Regions from separate parts of the Homo sapiens genome. Here all the other regions are linked to region 5. Evidence: promoter capture Hi-C in 16 types of primary human blood cells and fetal thymus (Javierre and others, 2016). All regions are on one chromosome and are shown on one strand. The core of a region is centred on a gene start or on the middle of the fragment in contact, and the rest is flanking DNA. Distances in the headings are between cores, read along the strand shown. Region 1 overlaps ATG10 (autophagy related 10). Region 2 overlaps ATG10 (autophagy related 10). Region 3 has its middle 34 kb from the start of RPS23. Region 4 has its middle 14 kb from the start of RPS23. Region 5 holds the start of ACOT12 (acyl-CoA thioesterase 12). Region 6 has its middle 20 kb from the start of RPS23. Region 7 overlaps ATG10 (autophagy related 10).

Evidence for each region. Contacts are between HindIII fragments. The CHiCAGO score rates a contact against its expected background, and 5 or more counts as called.
Region 1: a fragment that was not itself captured here is called in contact with the fragment with the promoter of ACOT12 in region 5 in 10 of 17 cell types (monocytes, naive B cells, activated CD4 T cells and 7 more); the score reaches 10.3 in monocytes.
Region 2: a fragment that was not itself captured here is called in contact with the fragment with the promoter of ACOT12 in region 5 in 2 of 17 cell types (monocytes and non-activated CD4 T cells); the score reaches 6.7 in monocytes.
Region 3: a fragment that was not itself captured here is called in contact with the fragment with the promoter of ACOT12 in region 5 in 1 of 17 cell types (naive B cells); the score reaches 5.5 in naive B cells.
Region 4: a fragment that was not itself captured here is called in contact with the fragment with the promoter of ACOT12 in region 5 in 1 of 17 cell types (total B cells); the score reaches 5.0 in total B cells.
Region 6: a fragment that was not itself captured here is called in contact with the fragment with the promoter of ACOT12 in region 5 in 5 of 17 cell types (monocytes, erythroblasts, total B cells and 2 more); the score reaches 8.4 in monocytes.
Region 7: a fragment that was not itself captured here is called in contact with the fragment with the promoter of ACOT12 in region 5 in 15 of 17 cell types (naive CD4 T cells, total CD8 T cells, total B cells and 12 more); the score reaches 10.2 in naive CD4 T cells.

What each region holds. Positions count from the first base shown.
Region 1 is chr5:82,236,715-82,239,414 of GRCh38, reverse strand. The region is part of intron 5 of ATG10 (autophagy related 10); the gene reads right to left. Among named protein-coding and RNA genes, the nearest start is that of RPS23, 40 kb to the left of the region's middle. The HindIII fragment of the contact is 3,441 bases long and covers 1-2,700 here.
Region 2 is chr5:82,196,277-82,198,976 of GRCh38, reverse strand. All of the region lies in intron 5 of ATG10 (autophagy related 10), which reads right to left. Among named protein-coding and RNA genes, the nearest start is that of RPS23, 81 kb to the left of the region's middle. The HindIII fragment of the contact is 7,253 bases long and covers 1-2,700 here.
Region 3 is chr5:82,311,083-82,313,782 of GRCh38, reverse strand. It overlaps the pseudogene ATP6AP1L. Among named protein-coding and RNA genes, the nearest start is that of RPS23, 34 kb to the right of the region's middle. The HindIII fragment of the contact is 1,972 bases long and covers 321-2,292 here.
Region 4 is chr5:82,290,930-82,293,629 of GRCh38, reverse strand. It overlaps the pseudogene ATP6AP1L. Among named protein-coding and RNA genes, the nearest start is that of RPS23, 14 kb to the right of the region's middle. RefSeq lists an enhancer at 1-131. The HindIII fragment of the contact is 7,059 bases long and covers 1-2,700 here.
Region 5 is chr5:81,392,707-81,395,406 of GRCh38, reverse strand. ACOT12 (acyl-CoA thioesterase 12) reads left to right here and starts at 1,273. Exons shown (of 15, transcript NM_130767.3): 1 at 1,273-1,419. The coding sequence starts at 1,293. The HindIII fragment of the contact is 6,480 bases long and covers 1-2,700 here.
Region 6 is chr5:82,256,832-82,259,531 of GRCh38, reverse strand. No RefSeq gene overlaps it. Among named protein-coding and RNA genes, the nearest start is that of RPS23, 20 kb to the left of the region's middle. The HindIII fragment of the contact is 627 bases long and covers 1,050-1,676 here.
Region 7 is chr5:82,215,422-82,218,121 of GRCh38, reverse strand. All of the region lies in intron 5 of ATG10 (autophagy related 10), which reads right to left. Among named protein-coding and RNA genes, the nearest start is that of RPS23, 62 kb to the left of the region's middle. The HindIII fragment of the contact is 4,691 bases long and covers 1-2,700 here.

The DNA of each region.
Region 1 (2,700 bases), core at 200-2,699, 840 kb before region 5:
AGGGCACAGGAAGTATTCTGATTACTATTTTCATCTTAGCATCCAGGTTAGTGCCTTTCATCTAGTAGGTACTCAATAAATATTTGTGGAATTTATCGCATAGACAAAGACAGCCTAATGTGCCAAAGTAAGTTATTACTGGCATATGCTGCCTGTTCCATAAAGGGAAATATTTGTGTGGAGGGCACCCATAGCCCCTACGTCACTGTAGGGACACCATTCTCTCCTTGGCACAAAACTGGAGACAGAACCTACTTTACATTGCAGAAGTCCCAACATAAGATAAAAACTTCAGTATCTGTTTTCTCAAATATTTCTTCCAATGTGTATCTAAGAACGAAGGAGAGGATTTGAGGAGATGGTTAGGATAACCCTCTACATGTAATTTACTTTAAAAAATTATGTCAAATATGCAATATATTCTAAACTCTTATCTATTGGCTTCCACATTAAAAAATAGTATCTTATTTTACCATTGTGGAAAATTGATGCACCAAGATGCATATTTTAATTCTGTGAGTTTGCCTACTCCTTGCCACACCACTGTATCCCCCTAAGGTATGTTACCCAGACTAAGAAGCGGACTCAAATACTACCAAAATATATGCCTTCCTACTTTACTCCCACCTTTGTTACTCCATATGTTTTTTTACTTATGCATTCAGTAAACATCACTGAATACTTATTGTGGGTAAGATTCCATGCTAAACACTCATACATATATCCATCCATCTGCCCATCCATTTATTTATGGAGCACATTCTATATGCCAGGCACTTTTCTAGGCACTACAAATATTTGCACACTAAATACAGACGCAAAATTTGTTCTCATAGAATTTACATTCTAGTTTTAGGTACTAGAAATACATAAAACAGCAGCTAATTATCTTAATTCATGGGGTTTACAGTCCAGCTGCACCTGCAATACTACAAGTCTTGAATTGCACCTCTAGAAGAAAGACTCCTAAAGGTGAAATACTCATGCCCTGTCCCCTGAATGAAAAAGCAGATCCCTAGTGAGAATAGCAGAGATGGCTGATGGCTGGGCAGTGGTTAGGGGTCGGGTGGGTGGGGCGTGGTAATAGGACTGCGACCAGGAAAAGCTGCGAAGAAAGATTCCTTCTGTGGCAGCAATTAATTTCACCATTCGGAGGGAAGGCATGGGGAGTCCTCACACTTCCAGAGAAGACCATGTAGGGATCACAGTGGCACTAGCAAAAAATGAGACACTCCCTGCTATAAGGTGGAGGGTGTTCCAAGGACAATCTGAGGTGCCTGAGGGCCACAGAGGAGCTCACCAGTAAAATAAAGGAAAACTTCGATGCAGAGGTGGCCCAGGCCTGAGGCCCTATCGATGGAAAGACCTTGTTCCCTGGGATGATACTCCTTAAGATCCTGCTTGCCTGAAACTTAATCACTATTTTCTTAAGGCAGATCTAATGCTTGCTGTATGGCTTCAATCGTATGCTTTCTGTAACACTGTGTTGTGTGGCTACGGTTGGAAACATAAGTCTGTATAGCAGGATGTATATTTTCATGAGCTATGAGAGATCTTGAGTCAAATGAAATTTGGTATCTCCTCTCTCCTCCCCATACTCCATTAGGGCATCTACCATTCAAGGATTACAGAAATAACTGTTATATATGATAGGCTGGTTGTGATCCTGGCTACTCAAAGGTACACATCCAGGAATATGGGAATTCAAAGAAAGGAGAGGTCACTTCTGACTCGGGGAGAGAGACGGCAGCAAAGACTTTTTTTTTTTTTTTGAGAAGGAATCTCGCTCTGTCATCCAGGCCGGAGTGCAATGGCATGATCTCGGCTCACTGCAACCTCTGCCTCCTGGTTCAAGCAATTCTCCTGCCTCAGCCTCCGGAGTAGTTGGGACTAGAGGTGCACGCCACCATGTCCAGCTAATTTTTGTATTTTTAGTAGAGGCGGGGTTTCATCATGTTGGTCAGGCTGGTCTCGAACTCCTGACCTCAGGTGATCCGCCTGCCTTGGCCTCCCAAAGTGCTGAGATTACAGGTGTGAGCCACCACACCCGGCCAAGACTTCTTAAAAATATGGTATTTAATCTTGCCCAGACCTTAAAGGACGGGCAGAACTCAGGGAGGAGAAAAGCAAAGTGTGGCCGTAGAATATAAGCCAGAAACAGCCTACTCCAAGTTTAATGGGAAAGGAGTTAAGAGAGATGTACCAACTTCCATCTTTTAGGTAAGACTGAGAAGTTTGGTAAGTTTGGAGAAGAAAAATTGCCTATTTTTGTTTGTTTGGTTTTGTTGATGTTGGTGTTAAATGATTAAGGCAATCCCTTTATGATCCAATAATTTTCTGAAAGTAGTCAAGACAAAGAGGCAAGGTTTGAACACCAAGCAATCGTACTTTATAGTTTTAAAAAAGGGGAAAAAAAGGGGGGAAAGAAGAAATACCAGTTCAGATTTCCATCTCTCATAGGTATATGAGAATATACATAGAAAAAAATGTGAGAAAATGTTAAGAAAAAAAATATGTGGGAAAGAAACCAAAGTCTCACCTAAGTACCCAGAAAGATCAGCAAGTTTCTCCTCATTTCTAGGATGAACAGAGGAAGACAAGTGAGCCACACTTTACTCTAGCTGCCCCTGTTGACATTTTTGGCCTGTTAATTAGGAAGAAATGTCTAATGGTGTTTAGGAAGGTGGTTTAAACAACAAC
Region 2 (2,700 bases), core at 58-2,557, 800 kb before region 5:
AAAAACTAGGAGAAAATTAGCTATATAATGTATCAGTGTGAAAGCTGAATGTTGTACCTGGAAATGTTTACTGTATATCATGCTCCTTCTAGGAAGCTAATGGTAAATGATCATACTAAACATTAGGTAATACTTCACTGACAAAAATCAGGATGCTCGGTCTTCAGAAGAGTCAATGTGAAAAGTCAAGCAAAACAGCAATTAAATAGTTTCAGGCAAGTCCCCCAATCCCAAGTACTGTTCCCTTTCGGGAATTTCTTCTGTTAAAATAATAACAGTGGCCTGTCCTTAGAATGTGGCAAAATGAGAGCAATAACCTCTTAGACCATAGATTCAGGTTGTAAAATCTCTGTTTTTGGGGGCTGAGTTTACAGTTAAGGCTAAAACTACAGAAAACATGTAGATAGTGCACATCCTTGGCTGCCTTGGTGCCTCACACCTGTAATCCCAGCACTTTGGGAGGCTGGGACAGGCAGATCACTTGAGCCCAGGAGTTCAAGACCAGCCTGACTAGCAAAACCCCATCTCTCTATTAAAAATACAAAAATTAGCCAGGCATGGTGGTGCACACCTGTAATCCCAACTACCTACCATGTTGGGTGGTGGAGGCACAAGAATTAGTTGAACCCAGGAAGTGGAGGCTTCAGTGAGCCACGATCCTGTCACCGTACTCCAGCCTGGGCGACTTAGCATTCTATTTTGTTTATTAAATGCAAATCTGGTTTCTTTTGCTCACCTTCTACCTCACTTGAGCAAAGGTAAATTTTTTATACCACTCCCTCTTTATGTAGTCTAATATTATTTAGTAAGAATGTCTAAAAAGTAAATTTCCACAAAAACCTACAATTAAGCAAGTGAATTAAATGAAAATCTCAAGGAAAATACTCTGCATTACCAGCTAAATCCCCTTAGTCAACCTTCCCCAGGCCCAATCCTCCTATGCTTCTCAATTTCCCTCATATTTCACTCTAAAGTATGTGAGGAGTTCTATTTTTCCATGAACAGGGCACACAATACCAGGCATTAGCCAGGAATTGAGGAAAACATCATAGATCAAGAAATGGACTTCTTACTAAACTCCAGTCCTTTGCAAAAAGAGTTCTCAGGGTACTGAAACTCAGCTGAGGTAAGTCACCTGAACTGCTGAATGTGATACAGTAAAAAGAACTTAGTTTGGTTGAACAAATCATTTTATCTATAGAGATAGATAGATAGATAGATAGATAGATAGATAGATAGATAGATAGATAGATAGAAAGAAAGAAAGAAAGAAAATAATGGGACAGAGAGGTAAGGTATAATCAGAGAAGGATGCAATTAACCATTGGAGAAGGTGGGTGGGAAGAAAACGACTGAGAGGACAATGGGAAGTAATGTAAATAGGATTCATGCCACATCCAAATACCAAAGGATGGACACAGGCACAGGTCATATTCCCAAGAAAGACAGACAGACAGACAGATAGGTAGATAGGCAGGTAGGTAGGTAGGTAGGTAGGTAGGTAGGTAGGTAGGTAGATAGACAGATAGATAGATAGATAGATAAGCTGGTTAGGGTTAGAGAATTTTAGTTCTTGAACAATTTCTTTTTCAGACAACATGCTATTACCTGTATTCTCTCTGTCATCAAAAATCAAGACATGCCATAATGACATGATCTTTTATATAGAAAATCTTAATAAATCCACAAAAAACTATTAGACCTAATAAAAGAGTTCAGCAAGGTTACAGGATACAAAAAAATACACACAAAAAATCAGTTGTATTTCTACACTAGCAGAGAACAATATGAAAATGAAATTAAGAAAACAATTTCATTCACAACAGCATCAAAAAGAACAAAATATGTAGGAATAAATTTAATGAAAAAATTCAAGACTTGTCACCTGAAAATCTATACAACAGTGTTGAAAGAAATTGAGAGGAGCTAAGTAAATGGAAAGACATTCCGTATTGATGAATTGGAAGATAGAATCTTGTTAAGATGGCAATTCTCCTCAAATTGAAGTATAGCTCCAGTGCAATCCATATCAAAATTCCAACTGACATTTTCGCAGAAATTGAGAAACTGATGCTAAGATTCATATGGAAATGCATAGAACCAAAGCTAGCGAAAACAATCTTCAAAAAGAAGAACAAAGTTGGTGGGCTTACGTTTCCCAATTTCAAAAAATGACTGTTATAAAGCCACAGTAAACAAGACAGTGTGACGCTGACAAAGGATAGGCATATGAAACAGTGGAATAGAATTTGGCGTCCAGAAATAAATGCATACATCTATGGTAAATTGATTTTTGACAAGGGTGCCAAGATAATTAAGTGGGAAAAGAATAGTCTTTACAAATAATGGTTCAGAGACTACTGGATATTTATTAGTACATGCAAAAGAATGAATTTGCACCCCTACCTCATTGCTACATACAAAAATAAGTTAAAATAGATGAAAGACCTAAATGTAAAAGCTAAAACCATAAAACTCTTAGAAGACCACATAGGGTTTAATCTTTGTGCCCTTAGGATACGTAACAGTTTTGTAGATATAATACCTAAGGCGAAATAAATCTAATAAAAAAATAGATAAATTGGACTTTACCTACATAAAAAACTTTTGTGAGCCAAAGAACGCTATCAAGAGAGGGAAAAGACAACCAATGGAATGGGAGAAAATTTGCAAATCATATAGTCAATAAGGGTCTAGTAT
Region 3 (2,700 bases), core at 57-2,556, 920 kb before region 5:
GTGTTTCCACATATCTTAGGCCACGTATTCTTTACATTAATAAAGATAGGTGAGAAATTGAGAGAGGTTAAGTAACTTGCCCTGGTGGCTGAGCAGTAATTTGAAACCAGGTCTGTCTGACTCCAAAATGTGAGCTCCTTCCCTACCCCAAACTGCCTTTCATCCACACGACACTTCTCTAAGCTTGGGAAGGATGAAAGGGAAGAATATGCATATATGCCAATGCCCACATATATTTGGAAAAGGTTGGAATGTGCCCATAAGAGGTACATGCAAAGCCCTGCCTACTATTTCAGGGAGTGGTAGGAACAAGCTAAGCTTCATTCACAGGTAAACAGGATAGAGGAACTTGACAGAATGTCTCTCAGCCTAAGATTCTGGTGGTGAAAAGGAATCTCTTACACCCCATTCCTTACTCCAAATACTTTCAAGATCTTTGGGATATTTTTGACTCCCCGCTGAGTCCCTTCCTACTAACTGCCAAAGCTGTCACTCACACTGCCGATGTACTTCTTATCTTCCCTGATAAGATCACTGCGCCACTCCCTGAAGGAAATAAAATAATTGTCCGCCAATGCCTCTCCCCAGAAGGGCCTCTCAGTCCAGGAAGTGTCAGTCCCTGGCTTCACCCACAGCTTCACTAGGGCTTAGATGGCTGGCATTCCTCACTGATAATTATTCGTGCTGGATAAAGCTGAATGTAAAAGCAAGCCCTGGGTAGGAGGTGGGGGACACAGGGAGATAAAATTCTCTATCCTATTCTACTTCATACCTTAAAAGACAAAGGAAAAAAACCACCAATATTCTTTTAAAGGCATCTACTTCTCTTTTCCTTAAGCATCTAGGTTTGTTTCAGGTGTTTTTAAACAAACACTGAGCTCTTTTGGTACCAAAAACGCAGGTGCATTGAGCATAGGTTTTAGTTTATTACCTGGAAATCAATAAAAGTGACCTCCCACAGGCTCGACCCATCATCCGTGTCGCTGGGCAGCAAGAGGGCCTGGTCCTGCTGCAGGCTGCCCACGCGTTGGCAGCGGTAGGAGTAACCAGAGGGAGCATATACGCCAGTTGGGTTAAAGACTGCTTGGATTGAATTGTTGGAAATGATCTCGACTCGGCGCAAACTAAACCAACTCTGGATGGACAACTTGTTGTAATTGGTAAGGATGAATCTGAAAATGGTTATAAAAACAGCATTACTCCTAAAGAACTTTTCCCACGTTTACTGACGCAAGGCATCGTCTATGAACAGTACAATGGCGCCCTCTTTTGTCAGGCGGCAGAACGGGCTTGGGGAAAGGCTTCACTTTTGCTGCAGAGCCTTCCCTGGATGGATGGAAAAAGAGCAAATGACAGGGCAGCACCCAAAGTGGACAGTGCAAATTCCTACGAAAGAAAAAACACACAAAGTTTGGGTTTGTTTTGTTTTGTTTTTCCTTTTTTAGAATCAACACTTGATTATGTGTTTATTATTCAAAAAATTTGAGAAAAACTTAAATGGACATCAATGAAGAATTTGCTAAATTGTGGTTTAAAATAATAGTAATAGCTCTCTTAATAACTTCTGTGTTATGTATGTGTATTGTGTTTAATCTTCACTTCAACACCATGTAATAGATAATGTCCTTATTCTAACTTCACAGCTGAGGAATCTAAGACACAAAGGGCTTGAATAAGCTCACTTGGAGAGTAAGTGTCAGAGCTGGGCTTCAAATCCAATCTTAACTCTTTTGGAATGGACTGTTTTCCAGCCATGAAAAAAGTCATAATTTACTTGTCATTATCATTTTATTTCCATTTAAAAAAAAAAGTGACTGCATTAAAAAAAAATGTCTGGAAGGATAGAGATTAAAACATTAGTAGTGATTACAAATGGTGTTTAGATTATTGATGATTTTCATTTTCTTCTTTCTGTAGCTCAATATTTTCTGATTTTTCTGTTTTCATTAGTTTTTCTTGTCTCTATTTGGCTTCTTTGCAAGCAGTCTCTAAGACACAGGTGTGAATATAAGAAATATTCAGGGGAGTTTAGTCATTCAAAATACGTAAAATGGAGAGAAAAGAAATGACAGAGGAAGGGAAGGCAGCTAAAAGAGGTACATTATTAAGCCAGTTTCCAATGTGGACAAGCAGGGCTTCATGGCCGTGATGGAACCTGGGAGCCAGAGCACAGCACATGCTGCTGAGTTATCTCACCTGACGGGGAGGGAGCTGAGGTGTGTGTATGTGTCCTCCAGTCATTGGTTGAAGGCTGCTGGGCCAGGGACTGGGGGCAGTGGGCCAGAGAAAGCTTTTAGGCAAAGAGAGGCGGGGAGTTGAAAGTTCAGCAGGTAGGCTACAGTGCTCTCAAATGGAAAGGACCATGTAGATATTCACGGGGTACTGACAGTTTCTGCTACATACCTTTATCATCAGAATAAATAATAATAACAATAATAATAATAAAGCTATTTTTCATTTTGGAAAAAAGTGGAATTACAGATCAAAAATAGTCTCCATTTCTAGATCAAACAGACATGTGTGTTTGGTCACCTTGTGGGATTCTATTTACTTGTAAAGTTGCTCTGAAAGATGATGACATATATTTTCTAAATTATGATCAGTGAAACTCTAGTCTCCCATGATATGTAGACAAGTGTTCTGAGGAAGAAGGTTCTCCAAAATTAAACACAGGAAACACTGAGTTAGTCAAAGTTACAA
Region 4 (2,700 bases), core at 177-2,676, 900 kb before region 5:
ATGCAATATTTGGGACATACTATATTTAAAATGTATTAATTGTTTATTTGAAAATTAAGTTTAACTGGGCATCTTATATTTTTAGTTTGCTAAACCAGCCAGTCCTAGTCTTAGGGAAGCTCAGCTACTCAAAGTGTAAAGTGCATACAAATCACATGAGATTCCGTTAAAATGCAAATTTTGACCCAGTAGGTCTGGAGTGGGGTGTAGGATACCACATTCCTAACCAGCTCCCAGATGATGATGATGGTGATGCTGCTTGCCTGAGAACCGCCCTTTGAGTAGCAAGGATCTAGAACAGCATTGTTCAATAGAAATAGAATGAGAGCTACATATGGAATTTAAAATTTTCTAGTCACATTAAAAAGAAGTAAAAATAAACAGGTGAAACTAATTTTAACAGTATTTTTATTTAACCTGTCTAAAATACTATCATTTCAAACATACTCAATTTTAAGGATTATTAGTGAAACATTTTATGTTCTTTTTCTGCCCTAAATCTGAACTCTAGCGTATAATTTTAAAAATTTATTTATTTCTATATTTTGTAGAGATGGGGGTCTTGTTATGTTACCTAGGCCGGTCTCAAACTCCTGGGCTCCAGCAGCCCTCCTGCCTCAGCCTCCAAAAGTGCTGGAATTACAGGCATGAGCCACCATGCTACTTATATCTCAATTCAAACAAGCCAAATTTGAAGCGTTCAGTGGACACTTGTGGCTAGTGCCCCCTGTATTGGACAGGCAAGATACAGAACATCTCCTGCAGCTGCCAGAGCAGTACTTGGTATTCTCTTATGGGAGCAGTGGCAGTGCCTACTCCTCAAGGCCCTGGTCAGGAGAAAGTGAGAGCCCAAGCCAATGATGATCCTGCATTGTGACAATAATGGTTCTGTGAACCCTGAGAAAGGACAGTGTTAGTCCCTTACTAGTTATTACATAATAATCTTTCGGCTGGGCACAGTGGCTCACGCCTGTAATCCCAGCATTTAGGAGGCCGAGGCGGGCAGATCACGAGGACAGGAGCTCGAGACCAGTCTGGCCAACATGGTGAAACCCCGTCTCTACTAAAAATACAAAAAAGTAGCCAGGCATGGTGGCAGGTGCCTGTAATCCCAGCTACTTGGGAGGCTGGGGCAGGAGAATCGCTTGAACCCAGGAGGCGGAGGTTGCAGTGAGCCAAGACCATGCCACTGCACTCCAGCCTGGACAACAGAGCAAGACTCCATCTCAAAAAAAAAAAAAAAAAAAAAAAAAGAATCTTTCATGGAAATATGCTTGGGTTACATTTTCAGACACACACACAATATTTTCAATTTAAATAAAGTATCATTTTAATAGATTTTATGTCCTGATCCTAAAATTGTAACATAGTATTCTTTCTGTTGTTGAAACATTCTCCCACTTGGTTAAGAATATTCAAGGCATAATAATTAGTAGCCAGTAGGTTTCACACATGTAGGTTTCACACAGTGACAAGAAATGCTCACTGGACATCTTAGAGGCTGCAAAGCTCTAGGGTGTCACCTGCCTGGCATTGTACCTTCCTGCTCGGACTGCTGAGGAGCCTCTGTGAAGAACTGTGAAGGGTCTGAGATTTTATTCACTTAGAAGCTAACTAGTTACCCTGACAGTTTTATGGAGGCTGACAGAAGACACAGACTCCTGGGTCAGAGAAAAGGACTTTATTACTCACCGCACAGCAAGTGACACAAGCATCAGTATATTTGGTCAGCTCCCCTTCCCCTCGGAATAATGTAGGTAGGCCCAGATGGATACTTGCACACACAGTGGGCTTCATCTCAGGAGAGAAACCCTGAGCTTACGGAGCCCCAATTTTTTTATAGTGAGTAGTAAACCTATCTGCCCTTTGCTCTGAGGGGAAATACTACCTCTACTTTCCAATGCTATAAGCAAGCCTGTCCTTTGCTACAAAGGGGACATGATTTCTACCGTTCAAGGCTTCTCCCTATACAAACATCCTAGAAAAGGTATTCAGAACAAAGAGCAGTTAGGGACTAGCTCACAATACAGGCAGAAAATGCAGAGGCACATGGAAAATTTCCCCTCTACTGTCTCCACAGGAGAACAGGAAGTTGTACAGCCATGCTGCCTTCTTTACAACTGGACACAACTTGGGTTTGCTTCATTTTTTTATTTACTATATATAACTAAATGATATGTTACCTGAATATTTGAATATCAAAAATCTATCTTCCCATAATCACATATGACCATATAGAATTGTGTTCCCACAGGAACAAAAATGGATCTAACTTAAGAATTCTAATATTTACCTTAAGAAGACTAACAGGTGCACAGTCTCTATTCATTCAACGCTCTCAGACCAAAACTTGCATAAATGTTTCAATCAATTATAATGGTCTTTGCATAGTGATTCAAAATCCAAATCCACGTAACTCCTACAAAGCCCAGCATGGCGTGGCCCCTGCTGGTCTCTCTTGCCTCATTTAACACCAGCTCCTCATCCTGAACATGTTCCAGGCACACTGGCTCGCACTCAGCTTCTCAGCACCCTCAACATGCCAAGCTCCATTGCACCCAAGTGACCTTGCACATACTATTCTCTCTGTGAAGTCACCTCACACCTCTCTAGCTCTCCGTGTATTCTATTCACTTTCATCATAACACATATCACAATTTGCACTGAGAGATTTATTTTCTCATGTACTTATTGATGCTG
Region 5 (2,700 bases), core at 24-2,523:
CTGCTTCAGGCTGTGAGTCCTCCGGCTGGCTGAGATGCCTCTGCAATACGTGAATTCAGTCTGGTACCCAGATGCTAATAGGCAGCTACTTGACCTCATGGCAGAGGTCAGATGTTCCTGAGAACAGAAACACGGTGCTTCTAAAGGCAAGACTGGTGGTACACTGCTATCTCTCCACATTCCATTCTTAAGCAAGCCACATGGCCAAGTCCAAGGTCAATAAATGACTCTCACAGAGTTATTGGTAGATGGAGTGAATATATGATAATCTATCAATTCCTAAATTATGATTTCTCAATACAGAAGTCATTAAAAAGGCATTTTCCAAGGAGGAGTGCCAAAAGCGATGTAATAACGTTATCATTGAAATAAGTGTATAGCTACATAATGGGACCATCTTGGATGCACAAGTTTTTGTTTGCTTTTAAAAGTTATTTTAATGCCTTTTATATAAGTCAGACTTCATGCTTGCCTCAGTGAAAACATGCAATTCCTATTTATGATTGGATTGTCCTGAAACCTATACACAGAGGCTCCTAAAAGCTATCAAGTCAACATTTCCTTATTTCTTCACTTTCATTTTAAAAAAAATCTTTTAAAAAGGAAAGAAAAATACCAGAATCTCCATTCTGATGTCGCCATGCTGAGGCTTGGCAAGCCAAAAATATAAGGATGAAAAGGCACCACCAATTCGTGAGAGTCGGCTAGGCTTCTTCGTGCTATTCCGGACAGTCAGGAGCCCTGGGTTCCAGCCAGGTGATCGGGTCGCTTATCGGCTCCTATCACCTCAGCTGCTTGCTCCACTTCTCCGGGTTTCCAGTTCTCCATCGTAAATGTGCTCCCTGGAGCAGCCTCCCCTGACAGTCAGACATCCACCAATCCATTAGATGCTGGAGGTTTTCTGGAGACACTGTTTCCCTAATGAGGACTGCTTTGTACAGTCACTGATAGCAGCTCTAGAAAGTGTAACAGCTTTTTTATCTCAAAAGCTGTTCCTCGCGCTCCGGCTCTCGGGGAGCCGCCTTCCAGACCTGTCTACCCGGGAGCCCCCTCCCCGCGCACTTCCCAGACTTCTCCTGAGACCCGAGAGCGCTGGTTTTCCCCCACTCGCGATAGTCCTGGGATGACAGTGCGGGCCCCCTCACTCGCAGCTCCCACCACCTGGCGGCCAGGGGTTCGCGGCCCGGGCGGGCGGCGCCAGTGCCCTCTGGAGCTGGGCGGGGAGGGCGGGGCGGGCGGAGCGGGCATGGTGGGGTGTCGGGGGCCGCAGGCGTAGCGCTCTCGCCCTGGCCATGGAGCGGCCGGCGCCCGGCGAGGTGGTCATGAGCCAAGCCATCCAGCCGGCGCACGCCACTGCGCGCGGCGAGCTGAGCGCGGGGCAGCTGCTCAAGTGGATCGACACCACCGCCTGCCTGGCGGGTAGGCGGGCGCCGGGGCTGCGGGGAGGCGCGGGACCGGGGCTGCGGGAGCGGCGGCGGCTGGGGGCTGGGGGGGGTAGGAAGGCGAGGAAGGTACTTGCGGAGAGCTGAACCCTGCGCAGCCAGGGATAGGGGTGTTGCAACAGTGCGCCCGCGCTGGGCATGGCCGAGACCGGTGGTTCCCAAATGTGTGGCTCTCGGGACTCCTTCATTCCATTAAACAAGTGAGGAGCCCAGAGAGCTTCTGCGGGGTTTTTTGTTTGTTTGTTTGTTGTTGTTGTTGTTGAGCTCTCTCCCGGGCTGGAGAGCGGTGGCGCCATCAGAGGTCGCTGCAGCCTCGACCTCCTGAGCTAAAGCGATCCTCCCACCTCAGCCTCCAGAGTAACTAGGACCACAGACGCACGCCACCAGGCCCAGCTGACTTTGGGAGTTTTGTTTTGTTTTGCTTTTGTAGAGATGGGGTCTCACTATGTTGCCCAGGCTGGTCTCAAACGCCTGGACTCAAGTGATCCTGAAGTGTTGGGAGGCCCCAGCCTCCCAAAGTGTTGGGATTACAGGCATGAGCCACCGCACCCAGGCAGCTTTTGTTTATGTAGGCTATTTATATCACATTTACCGTAATGGAAATTTAAAATTTTTAATTATTTTTAAAAAAGAAATGGACTACATTGTTAGCATAACATTTTTAATTAAGAAATAACTATTTTCCACAAGAACAAAAGTGTAGCGAGAGGAGTGGTGATAAAGGTTACATCCTGGCGAGTCTCTCTAAGGTCTGGCTAGTGGAGGATTGCTGACTACTCATACCTGCTTCTGCATTCACCCTGCTGCTACCACACCCTTATGTAGTCTCTGGAAAACTCCACTGTGTTCTTGTGACAGAATGACAGTAAAAATGGCAAAAACATTTATTAAGGACTGAATTATATCCCCCACACCACCCACCGAAATTTATACACTGAAGTCCTAACCCCTGGTGTGACTCTATTTGGAGTGAAGAATTAAGGCTAATGAGGTCATAAGAGTGGAATCCTGGTCCCATACAATTAATGTCCTTATAAGAAGAGACACTGGAGAGCTTCTCTCTGCCATGTGAGGCCACAGCAGGAAGACAGCCATCCACAGGCCAGGAAGAGAGCCCTCACTAGGACCTACAATGGGCAAGCACCTCGATTTGGAACTTCCCTGCCTCCACAATTGTGAGAAATCAATGATTCGTTTAAGCCTTTTTTTTTTTTAACAGGATTTGAGATTGGTTATATTAACAATGGAAACATGAATA
Region 6 (2,700 bases), core at 114-2,613, 860 kb before region 5:
TAGGTTTTATTTATTATTATATAGAGTTGATTTGAATGTAGGAATACATGTGAGTTTTCAGTTTATTTTTAATAATTTACAAAATGAGACCTGGTGGTCACTAAAATCACTTTCAGCTCCAATGGTCTAGAATGCAAGATACTTGCAACAGAACCACTAGATGTCACTACTAACAATACAAAAGTTAAAGCAAGGGCTTGAGATCACAGGATTACTGTAAAGAACTACCAGATTTAGGAATAAAAATGTGAAAATGCTTCCATAGAGAAGCCCTGTAAAAATCCAGAGGAGTAGCTTCAAACACCTTTGTGCACATGAAGTGCCGCAGAAACAATAATTGTTAAGTACTTCCTATACCCTTCTATTAATAGAATAGCCTTCAGCAACTTACTGGTCAGCAGCATAAGGAGAATCAAGTCTTAGAATAGGAAGGAAGCTTATTTGTCCATCAGTTTTCAGATTTCTATTTTCTGGCACTAGAAATACAGTCTATGTTACAACCCAGTGCACACGTGCATGTGTGCGTGTGTGGACACACACACACACAGATTTCATATATATATAAAATATATGTGTGTGTATATATATAAAATATGTGTGTGTATATATATATATATAAATATATATATAAAACATATAGTTGAAACCAAAGTTTCACAAAACAATAATGCCCTTACTATGTGTAGTGCACTTTGATATTTTCTTTTTTATGTATTCTATTTCATTAAAAAAAAAAAAAAACTGGCTGGGCATAGCGGCTCACACCTGTGTAATCCCAGTACTTTGGGAGGCTGAGATAGGAGGATCTCTTGAGCCTAGGGGTTCAAGTACAGTCTGGGCAACATAGTGAGACCTCATCTCTACAAAAAATAAGCAAAATTAACCAGGCGTGGTGGCATGCGCCTGTAGTCCTAGCTACTCAGGAGACTGCAATGAGAGGATCCCTTGAGCCCAGGAGGTCAGGCTGGAGTGAGTCAAGATCAAGCCATTGCACTCCAGCCTAGGCAACAGAGTAAGACCTTATTTCAAAAAAAAAAAAAAAAAAAGCTTGTTACAAAACAATAAATTGATTTTACTCAATCAAATACACTTTCTTATGTTAATATATCAGAAAACAGAGGCCCAGAGAGGTGCAGTGACTTGCCCCAGGTAACTCAGTAGTCAGAATTCAAGGCTTTTCAGGACACTGGCAGGTTTTGTTTTGGAAGACCCTAGGTAAAAACTGAAGTGTCTTTGGCACAATCTCAGCCCCTGCTGTGCTCCTCAACCTTCTAAATCCTGTGGCTAAGACACTGCAGTAAAAACAAAACAAAACGAAACCTGACAAAGTGTATGGATGATTAGTTATATGCAGCAGCCATTTAAAAATACAGGTTCTTTCTTAAACGCAAATGTGATCACTTTAACTTTTCTATTTGAATCCCAGCAGTGGCTGTGGTTTTCGGGCCAAATACAAATTCTCAGTGTGACAGTAAAGACTCTTCCCGAGCTGGCCCCAGTCCTGCTCTAGCCAGCTTGATTCTTCACCACTTCCCTACAAGCACCTTCAAGATTCTTCCTTCACTCTTGACCTGGCTAAGTCATAAGGTTTTCGAGACTCCACTCACATTCCTCTTCTGCAAAGCCTTCCTTGGCATGTGCTTGCCCACAGCATGCAGCCTACTGTTCCTGAAGCTTCCTCTTGTGTGTCCTCTCCACTGGACTATGGCATTCTTATGTCTCCCCATTTGCTATCTGTGGCACCTGGCCTAGGATTCAGTATGTAAGAGGAAATCTGCTTAAGTGAATATTTTCATATTCTCATTCTTAAATTTTAACCCTAAAAAAACCTCACTGGAATATCTCTGGATTATGTAAGAGCTGATTTTGACATTGCAGAGCTCTATTTCCTAATATTTTGGGAGTATGAATAAAAACCACTATACCTATCATAGGAGAAATACATGCAAAAACCCAGTTCTGGCCTTTTTTCTCTTGATTTTAATAAGCCTTTGTTGGGGGGAAGGGGAATTTTGTTTTTTTAACCTCTAGCTCGTAGGCTAGTACCTGCTGAGCAACACAGCCTCTGCTCCCCTCACTGCTCCCTCCACTGGTCCCTCAAAGAGTTTTCCCACCTCTCAAATTCCCAACCCAAGAGCCTTTCTACTTAGGTGGCACACACAGACATTCTTCTGTGTATGCTGCAACACAGCAAATCAAGGACAGTGGCCAACACCTGAAATGACTTAATTAATACTTATCAAGTTGGGGAGAAATTAGAGCGGAAGAGAGGCAGCTAAAAGCTCATAGTGACTAAGGATGGTGAGTAATGAAGGGAGCACTGATTGGGGTCTGTGGTGGTCAGAGGTGGCTTTGTGACAGTGAATCACCAACACCAGGGTGGGAATTGGGTAGACCTGTGGGGAAGGAAGCACTTCCAGGTGGGCACCAGCATAAGCAACAGTCAGCTAAGGGTGTGAAGGAAAAGACTCCCCAGATCAGAGAGCGCTTGGCACTGGGGAGGGCTCAGACATACAATGAGGTGGAGAGGAGTAGGGATGCTAGTGTCGCTGAAGGAGCAGGTCATTATCCACTGTCACCCCTCACTCCATGTCTCACTGCCTTGGTTAAAGCACATTCAGTTTTATGTATCATTTTGATCTTCTCTATGCCCTTGTCAGGTAAGCAGCATAGATACTGTGGGCTTTATTTTTCAGAAAT
Region 7 (2,700 bases), core at 137-2,636, 820 kb before region 5:
AACTGATAGGTTAAAATAATTCCTGTACGTGTGATGTGTGTGTGTGTGTGTGTGTGTGTGTGTGTGTGTAAAGAGAGAACAGTGTTCTGTTATAACCTTCCTTATGCAGCTGTTTTTTTGTTTGGTTTTGTTTTGTTTTAATTTAGAGACAAGGTCTGGATCTGTTGCCCAGGCTAGAGTGCAATGGTACAATCTCAGCTCACCACAGCCTTGACCTCCTGGGGTCAAGCGAGCCTCCTACCTCAGCCTCCCGAGTAGCTAGAACCACAGGTGCACACTACCACACCCAGTTAATTTTTTTTTTTTTTTTTGGTAGAGAGGGGGTCTTGTTATATTGCCCAGGCTGGCCTCAAATTCCTGGGCTCAAGCAGTCTTCCTGCCTCAGCCTCCCAAAGTGCTGGGTACAGGTGTGAGCCACCACACATGGCCAGCTGTTTTGAGAATTAAATGAGACAATGCATGTAAAGCATGTTGCCTGTGTAAACTGCTGCCAATCAATATTATGCCCTATATGTGTATGTATATGGGTGTGTGTGTGTATATATATGCATATATATTCTACAATTTGTCACAAAAGATTCATGTGGCAAAAAATAGCTTCTGACACATACACATATATATGACAGGATATATAAGGGATAAGATTGCATTTATACCTTATAAGAATTATAAGGTAATATAATATATAAGCACATAGTAAATGTAATATTACTATGTAATAAAAGTAGTAAATGAACTAATGCACATAAATAGCACAGTGTTTAGTAAATAACAAATGCTTAACAATGTTCGTTGTGGTCATCATCACCATCACCACCATTATTTCTCCCATTTTATATAGGAGGACACTGAATTTCCAAGGGAGTTAGGTAACTTACCCAAGGCCAAACAGCTAGTAAGAGGCTGGGCTGAGACTGATGTCTGTTTGATTGCAAAACTCATGATCTTCCCAATTTTACTATAGGCCTAAGCATTCTTACAGAGTGGTTAAGTATTCTGCTTCTATAAAACAGGTTTCAAGTAAAAAGAGAAGATAGTTGTTGCTACCATCGTCATTTTTTTTTTTTGAGACTGAGTCTCACTCTGTCACCCAGGCTGGAGTGCAGTAGCGCAATCTCGGCTCACTGCAACCTCCACCTCCCGGGTTCAAGTGATTCTCCTGCCTCAGCCTCCTAAGTAGCTGGGACTACAGGCACGCACCACTACACCCAGCTGATTTTTGTATTTTTAGTAGAGATGGGGTTTCACCATATTGTCCAGGCTGGTCTTGAACTCCTGACCTCATGATCCACCCACCTCGGCCTCCCAAAGTGCTGGGATTACAGGCATGAGCCACTGCGCCTGGCCTGTTGCTACCATCTTCATTCTTATAGCTGTGGACTCAAATAAATCTAATGAAACTCCTAATAGCATGAGTTTTATTGGTTTGGCATATTACAATAATCTATTGCTAGTGTAAGACATTTCCTGGTCATAAGGCAAGTATCTAGAAGTGGCTTTTGCTGAAGTGTTGCCAGTCTGTCATTGATCTCCCATTCTATTCATACCTAATTAGCATGCTTGAAGTCTCACAAGTTGCTCAGGTGGCTTACTTGATTCTGGTATTTTAAAACAATACTATTATTGTGGATGTGATGCATAATTTTACCATATCAGAACATCAAAATCCATTCATTAAAGAATCTATCAAAGTCTGGATGTAAGTTAATAATATATGTCTCTTCTCTGGTCTGGGTATGAAAAAGGAAAGTTACTTGAAAATAAGAGGGTAGAAGATTTATTTTTAGACCAGGATATACTTAGCTAATAGTCTTAAGCCAGGGTGGCTCCAGGCCAGAGCGAAATTCACTAAGTTGAATCTCTTTTTGTTGCCCTTCCTTTTTACTCTGAAGCAGACAAGGTAATAAGCAGTGGGGACATATCTAGGATCTACAGAATATTTCTGCAGTTTCTATTTTCTAAATCATCAAGCTGTTCTTTAGTTTTATAGAGCAGTTTTTCAATTGTTGAGGATCTTTCTGCAGAAAGGCAATTTGATTTCTATCCTTGGCTCTTCGATTATACATTCTATCATCACTAAACATTGATTAAGCCTGCTGCAATACACTCCCTTGTATTTGGGTCTTTGAATTCTCAGAAGGTCATTATTTATTACAATGTAACAAATTGGATTTTTTTTTTTTTTTGAGATGGAGTTTCGCTCTTGTTGCCCAGGCTGGAGTGCAGTGGGGCGATCTCAGCTCACTGCAACCTTCACCTCCCAGGTTCAAGCTATTCTGCCTCAGCCTCCCGAGTAGCTGGGATTATAGGCGCCTGCCACCATGCCCAGCTAATTTTTTGTATTTTTAGTAGAGAATGGGGTTTCACCATGTTGGCCAGGCTGGTCTCGAACTCCCGACCTCAGGTGATCCACCTGCCTCAACCTCCCAAAGTGCTGGGATTACAGGTGTGAGCCACCGTGTCTGGCCTGGAAATATTTTTAAAATATGGTCAATGCAGGTGCTGTATTTATCAGTGTTAGCCTTTGTTTCAGGACAAAATGAGCTGATGTTTCTTAACAAACATGACATTTAATTCAAGTGTTTTTTAAAGATATATAAAAATTAATTTTTTCTTTCTGAGAATATCACCATTGAAAAAACTCAAGGTCTGGTAGGCAGCTTTCTAAAACGGTTCAATAATTCCCTTGTGTCCCCTTGC